2 separate regions of the Homo sapiens genome follow, and region 1 is linked to region 2. Evidence: promoter capture Hi-C in 16 types of primary human blood cells and fetal thymus (Javierre and others, 2016). All regions are on one chromosome and are shown on one strand. Each heading gives the region's core, a stretch centred on a gene start or on the middle of the fragment in contact. The rest is flanking DNA. Distances are from core to core; before and after follow the strand shown. Region 1 holds the start of TXNL4B (thioredoxin like 4B). Region 2 holds the start of MON1B (MON1 vesicular trafficking associated B).

Region 1 (3,570 bases), core at 690-3,189, 5.1 Mb before region 2:
GGCAGGCACACAATCAGCTCTTAGTGAACTAACAAATGAACAGCTATATACCCAACCCTGACTACTCCCTCTCATGTACTACTCAGATGCTGAAGTGAGAATATACAGATTATTAATAAAAACCAATTATTTTAGACATTCACTTACAATATCATCTAGCTGCAGACAGACAGGATCTTCATCTCTCCCAAACCTGAGAACCAACACCTTCTCAGCAGTACTTTTTATCGCCTGGTCTACTTCCTTTTTGCTAGTCAGCTTGGGCAGTAGGAAGCTCATCTTGAAATAACCCAAATGTGAATCCTCACTGTCACTCCTGAAATAAAGGTGCAATGTTTAAAGACAGTTTAGATTAAGTGCGTGAGCCCTCATTAAAAAAAATTAATTCACAGAGTAGCTAATGTATTCACATGGTATGAAAGAAACATCATAGAAAGGTAACACTGTGGAGTTTCCCTCTCTTTGTCCCTGCTCCTTGGAACCAGTTTTCATTGTTCCCTCCCCCGGGCCAGATAACTGCTTTCATTAGTTTCTCATGTATCTTTCAGAGTTTTGTTATGCATTCACCAAAAAATACAAATATGCGTTCCGATATTTTTTTTCTCTCTCTCCCCACCCCCAAAAGATAGCCTATTGTATCAGTGTTCCAGCAGGAAAGCGATGACACTCTCAACTTTGGTAATTTGAAGGCAGTTTAATTAAGGCAGGTGTAGAAAAACAATACGGTAAAGTGTACTACTTTGGGGCTAGTAACAGCGGGATGCTGTACCCATCCCTAGGCCATGGGAGGAAGAAGCCACGGTAGGAAGCAGTTATAAGAATTGTGTGGCAGAAAGAGGTGAGTGGAGAGGACAGTGTATAGGAGGGCAGCCTGCTGTTAGGTGTTGCAGCCACTCTCCTCCCTCCCTCTGACCTTTGCTCATGCAACCACCGGCTGACTCCAACTGGAACCAGAGGGCAGGGGCCTGTTGAGGCAGGCAAACCTCCCTGTCCCAGAGCAGTCTAGAGGAGGATGAAGAATGGCTGTGGAGGGACCAATGGCAGATGTTCAGCACACACACTTTATCTACTCTTCAGCACTTTTCATTATTTCAAACCTAACCTATGAAGATTGCCCCATATCTCTATATAGAGAACATCCATATTCTCTGTCATGGCAGCATATTATTTCTTGCATGTGTTACACTTTTTAAACAGTCCTTTATTGTATACTTTATATTATTACAAGTCCTGGCTTAAAGATTCTTCGTGTGCACCTTACTAGGTGCACCTCATTACACGGCAAACAGATCAATTAAGAGTGTGTGTGAAAACTACAATACCATAAACAAATAATAAAATACTGAGGTACAAGGGACCTAATACAACCCCGTCATTTTACAAACTAGCTTGCTTACAGTTGCACTTTCTACTACAATGACAAGGACTAGAATACAGGCCACCAAATTTCTAGTCCAGGGGTCCTTCTACTACAATAATCTATTTTCATGATTGGTAGAAATTTCATTTTTGAGAAACTCTTTGACAAAGAAGCTTAGTTTTGTGGTCATCTATAAGAGACTCCATTGAGATGGTCGGTATTTTGAATTCAGTTCCAAATATGAAAAGGGAGGATTTCTTTTCCTATTTTTTTTGTCACAAGTCACATTTTAAGATACGAATTAGGCCAGGCTCACCCCTGTAATCCCAGCACTTTGGGAGGCCAAGGAGGGTGGATCACCTATGGCCAGGAATTCGAGACCAGCCTGGCCAACATGGTGAAACCCCGTCTCTACTAAAAATACAAAAAATTAGCCGGGCGTGGTGGCAGATGCCACCTGTAATCCAAGCTACTCAGGAGGCTGAGGCAGGAGAATTGCTTGAACCCTGGAGGCGGAGGTTGCAGTGAGCTAGGATCGCTCCACTGCACTCCAGCCTGGGCAAGGCAACAAGAGCGAAGCTCCGTCTCCAAAAAAAAAAAAAGGAATTATTTAACTAAAATTCACATAGGAAATAAGATTGTTCCAGCTATAGGTCATACTTTAAACAGGGACATTGATGGCCCAAAGGGACGTCATCAGATGTGAGCAGCAGAACAAATTACCAATGAAAGGGAAGGTCAAAGAGAAGACGGATCTGTCCCACTAGAATTCAAACAAACAGCAGTTCCTCCGTGTTACTGATCGAAAGGAGAAAGTAAGGGGAGAACAAAGTTGTTAGTGGTGAGGCTAGGGGTGCAACTGGACAAACGTTGGAAGCAGGAGAGGAAAACTGAGACCACATCTAAGAAAATGTCCATAGTAAATGATACCCACAGAGAATTCCCAAAAGAAGACGTACAAATGGACAGTAAATAAACTAAAAAGTTAAGCTTTACCAGTAAGCAAAGAAAAGCAAATTAAAACATATGTTTACAAAGTCACTGAATTGGCAAAAATTAAACAAGATAGTGGTAGGGGCAGGCACAGGGAGTTCCTGCTGGAATGCAGACACAAAACCTTTCTGGAAAGAAAACTGACATACTCTTTGACCAATAACTCCACTGCTTTCCTCTCTCCCTCTCTTTTTCTGAGGCGGGGTTTCGCTATGTTGCCCAGGCTGGTCTCAACTCCCCAGGCTCAAGCAATCCTCCCGCCTCAGCCTCCCGAGTAGCTGGAACCTCAGGCGCGCGCCACAACTGCAGAAACACCAAAAAAAGAAAAAAAGCTTGAACTCACTTTTGTACAGAATCTTACTACAATGTATTCCAGAAAAACAACTGGAAATCAGTGGTCATCTCTGCGTGTGAACGCATGGGTGATTTTTATTTACAGCCGGGCGCGCATCTCCATTTTCCAAAATATCCGATATACATATTTAAAGTCACCTGTGTTGCGCTGCTCCTGGCCCACAAGCGCTAAGGGACCCCAGCACTTACCTTACTCGTCCACGCCGCCTCACTCCCTTTCACTTTGTGGCTGTCAGCAACCACTTCTCGGAAGAGCCCGGGCGCGGACAGCTCCTTTCATCAGCCCCAAGCCGGACAGGACCCTAAGACCAAGTCACCCAGGGGCTGTTGCCTAGCAACCCTCGTGGCCCCGCTAGCGGGAAGGAAACCGAACAGAAAACGCACAAGCGCAGAAAAGAAACTCCTGGCCGTCGGTCGGCCCCCGCTCAACAGCCCAATAAACGGAAGAGCTTCTAGTCACCGCCCACCTTGCTCGGCTCTGACCGGAAGCTAGGCGTCACCTCCGCCCGTATTAAAGATGGTCGACCTTTTTCCCCTCCTTTTCCTGCCCCCAGACTAGAGGCGGGATGTAGTCTCTTAGGCTAAGAGTGATTGGTCACAAGGAGACTCGGAAGTGTCTGATCAGAGCCCCAGAGGAGGCCTTGAGAGCCTGTTGGCGTACCGTTCCACACTTGGATCCAGGAATCGGGCGTGTTCCAGGCTGCTCTCTATGGTAGCTTTGGGCGGATAGAGGGGGCGCGCAAAGTATTAAGGGACAATAATGGCCGCTTTCAAGGTGTGGATTTTGGCTCCTTGAGCCTGTCTGAGCGAGGGGTGGCAGCGCCGGCGCCCCAGAATCCGGGACAGAAGGGTCCCAAGAGTCG
Region 2 (3,800 bases), core at 372-2,871:
GTGACTGAGGGAGTTATTGCGAGATCTGGTTGTTTAAAGTGTGTAGCCCTGGGCTGGGCATGATGGCTCACTCCTGTAATCCCAGCAATTTGGGAAGCTGAGGCGGGTGAATCACCTGAGGTCGGGAGTTCAAGACCAGCCTGGCCAACATGGCGAAACCCCATGTCTACTAAAAATACAAAAATTAGCCGGACGTGGTGGCGGGCACCTGTAATCCCAGCTACTCCAGAGGCTGAGGCAGGAGAATTGCTTGAACCCGGGAGACGGAGGCTGCAATGAGTCAATAACATTTTGCCATTGCACTCCAGCCTGGGTAACACAGCGAGATTAATAAATAAGTTTGCTTATGAGATGTTATTTTATTGTACTTTTTTACATGTTTATTATATATTATATACTTCTAAATGTATTAGGTAAATATATTTTGTATGCACATAAATTTATCCATTGTTTCTGTTATATAAATTTAATATTTATTACTTATCGATTACCTATTGTATATAAAGCACATGATGCTACACTGGTATTTGGAATTCATTACCCTAACTATACTGTAATTAAAATAATTATCCTAACTAGTACCAAAGGCTTCCCCTTAGCAATCACTCGAAGTGTGCCAGCACCTCCACTCACTTCACGTCAAGCGATTCCCATCATTGTTTCACTGATGGAGAAACCAAGGCCCAGGGCACTTGGGGCAAGGCGTTCAGGGGGCTTTCGGTCCGGAAGCAGCGTCGGGGCGGGAATTCGAACCCTGGGTTCCCACACTGGCCCGTGGCAGGGCCCCCAAGCCTTTTCCCAAACTGATCACAGAAAGTGACGACCCGTTCGCCCGGCGGACCGGGGGCGTCGGGCAGGTCCTGGTCCAAGTGAGTGCCCGCCCCTGCCCTGGGCTGGCAGAGTTCTTCCCCCAGCTGCAGGTAGACGTGGGAACCCGGCAGGGTACGGAGCTGCTGGCGCGGCACGCTGATTAGAAGCGGCGACTGCCCGTCAAGCATTCGCGCCTCTCCCCTCCCTTGACTTTCTTGGCAGGGTTAAGGGATAAGAGAAAGTGGAGTTGCCTCAGTTCTGGGAGAGCCCGTTTGTGGGTCCGGCACAGGTATCCATCGGGACTGACGCTGCAAAAGTCCTCTTGTGAAACAAGGAATAGGCTCGAGTCTTCGATTGGGTCGAGGGAGACGTCAATCAATGGATGGGCGTGTGCAAACGCAACACAACGCACAGTATTGGTTAGGATTTGGCGGGGGGAGTAGACAGCGGGGAAATGAGGCGGCTCATCTCGATTGGCCCAGAAAGAAGACGGTCGCGCCCTATGTACTCCGGGATTGGCTAGAGCGAGCCGCGTCCCCCCTCACGCCAACCACTGGTAAGCGAAGTGGGCCTCGCTCTCCCGGGTTAGCAGCCGTAGCCAGATCCGTTGAAAGGAGTGCAGAGAGGTCTCATTGCGCTCCCGAACAGACCTGACGTAGATCCGAAGTGGCCCGCGCCATCTCAACTATGAGGGGACACCCGTAGGCGGCGGGAGAGGGACGCCGCGAGGAGCCAATAAAGCTCCGCAACCGGAAGTGTCTTCTGGGAGGGGTCGTACCCGGAAGTGTGGCACCTCCCGGGCCGCACCCGGAAGTGTGATGCCACCGCCGCTACGGGGAAGTAATGGTATCCGGCCAATTGAGATTCGGAGTTAAAACAGGTGTTTGTATATCTCTATTTCCTGAGGCCCAGTAGAGTCTCCTCTTTTCGGAAAGTGTTGGAGGGGGGACGTATTTGGGCATGATTTTGGATGTCTCGTCCTATTGAAATCCGTGGGGAAATGAGCAGTAGGAGTGTGTCCAAGGGGGCCTGACTCTATAAAGGCTTTTCAGAAGTTTCTTTCACCGCCCGTCACCCTCGATTCCCCTCCCACTCAGGGATGTGCAGATGGAGGTCGGAGGAGACACTGCTGCCCCGGCCCCCGGGGGCGCGGAGGACTTGGAGGACACGCAGTTCCCCAGTGAGGAAGCTAGAGAAGGTGGAGGGGTTCACGCGGTCCCGCCGGATCCCGAAGACGAGGGCCTGGAGGAAACAGGTATGACTCCACTTAGTGGGGTCTTAAAAGGAATCCTTAGGGGTTGTCATTGTTGGACGGGGGAAGGGTCAGTGGGTGACCAGTAGGGAGTCTTGGGACTTAAGAGAAGTGGCTTAAACCATCGCCGGGTCAGGAGGAGGTCACTGTGGACACATGGTGTAGTTTACATCATTGAGGAAGTCATTGGCTGTCAACGGATGTTCACTGGGGGTTTGGTGTGAGTTTAGGTCATTGAGGAATCAAAAAGGGGGCTGTTAGGACCAAAGAGGGTCACTGAGGATTTAGAGTGTTTAGATCAAAGAATGCGCTGAAGAAAGTCAATAGACTCAACAGAGGAGGACTGTTGAGAAGTTAGTGTTTTTGAGGAGTAGGGTGTTATTTATTAAATAATAGAAGTGGGAAGGGGAATCAGTGGAGTTCGATGGGCACTCAGAGTATTTACATCATTGAAGTCACTTGTAGACTGTTGGGGAAGTCTTTAAGGGACCAAATGTTAGTGGATGTGTAAAGTTGTTCATTTGAGATTTAATGGAAGTCACTGAGAAGTCTGTGCCATTGATCACTTTGGAATTAGTGGATGTAAATGGAGTCATTGGGAAGGATCAGTGGACCTCACTGAGAATAAATGTGGATGGGGAGGTTGAGGACTTGGGAATTAATAGCAGGTAAGAGCAGTTATTAGGAGGGAGTAAAGATATTTGGGGACATGGGAGTGTCAGTGAATGTCAGTGACAGAATATGCAATTATTGGGATTTTATGGGAAAATTATTGAGACATAGTTGCACATGGATAATAATGGTTGTCATTGGGGGATGAATGGAAATCAATGGGAATAAATGGATGTGTCAGTAGGGGCTGTTGAAGTTGTGGGTTTTAGTGAATGTTAATGATGGTCATGGGTAGGGGCAATGGAAGTCATTAAAGTCTTGTGTGTTAGTGGATATTATGATGGTTACTGTAGGGAGGGGAGTGGATACCAATGAGATTGAAGGTGGTCAGGGGAGTGACTGAAGGTCTCTGAAGTGCTGGGTGTTAGTGGAGGTTAATGATGGTCATTGTTGGGGGTAGGGGGGAGTAGACATGGAGTAGAATAACTTGTGGATCAGGGCAGTCATGGAGGGTCATTGAAAAACCAGGTGTTAATGATTGTTAATGTGGGGTCATTGGGGTGTTTGTGAACCACAGTGGGAGTGAATAGTGGATTAGGGGAGTCCTAAATATCTGGGTGTTAGTGGATATTAACGACAGTCATTGGGAGAAATAGTGGACATTACCAAGAATATAAATGGGCAACCAGGAGAGTTAGTAGGGGTCATCAGGTATCAGTGGGCATCACTGATAGGGTAGTAGCGGGGGTTGGGGCATTCAAACAGTTAAGATATTAATAGATGTTAATGGTGGCCATTGGGTGAGCAGATATCAGGAGAAAAAATAGCGGTCAGAGGAGTTAATGGGGGATCATTGAAGATGAATAATCGTCATCCAGAGTCAATGGGGTGCTTTGAAGACTTTGGAATAACAGTGATTGAAAGGGAAGTAATTGGTCTGTAGGAACATAGCAAGTCCAGTGGAATAACAATGAGAATATGTTGGTTTATTAGGGTTTTAGGAAGTTCATTGGAACCTAAATGTTAGTGGAGATCATTGCGGGGTCCTAGGGCAGTCATCGGGTCATTGAGGGGCATAGGAGACACTTGGAGTTCTGCGTCAGCATGCAGGGGTCATGGAGGGGCT

Evidence for each region. Contacts are between HindIII fragments. The CHiCAGO score rates a contact against its expected background, and 5 or more counts as called.
Region 1: a fragment that was not itself captured here is called in contact with the fragment with the promoter of MON1B in region 2 in 1 of 17 cell types (naive CD4 T cells); the score reaches 7.5 in naive CD4 T cells.

The regions. Positions count from the first base shown.
Region 1 is chr16:72,090,471-72,094,040 of GRCh38, forward strand. TXNL4B (thioredoxin like 4B) reads right to left here and starts at 3,150. Exons shown (of 4, transcript NM_017853.3): 1 at 2,897-3,150; 2 at 148-316. The coding sequence starts at 279. DHX38 (DEAH-box helicase 38) reads left to right here and starts at 3,377. Exons shown (of 27, transcript NM_014003.4): 1 at 3,377-3,570. RefSeq lists enhancers at 2,923-3,252, 3,263-3,312, 3,373-3,570. The HindIII fragment of the contact is 817 bases long and covers 1,532-2,348 here.
Region 2 is chr16:77,189,569-77,193,368 of GRCh38, forward strand. It overlaps MON1B (MON1 vesicular trafficking associated B), which reads left to right and starts at 1,622. Exons shown (of 6, transcript NM_014940.4): 1 at 1,622-1,690; 2 at 1,908-2,065. The coding sequence starts at 1,918. It overlaps LOC124903725, which reads right to left and starts at 998. Exons shown (of 1, transcript XM_047435021.1): 1 at 340-998. The coding sequence starts at 998. The coding sequence ends at 654. RefSeq lists enhancers at 1,340-2,288, 1,414-1,703, 1,724-1,773. The HindIII fragment of the contact is 24,724 bases long and covers 1-3,800 here.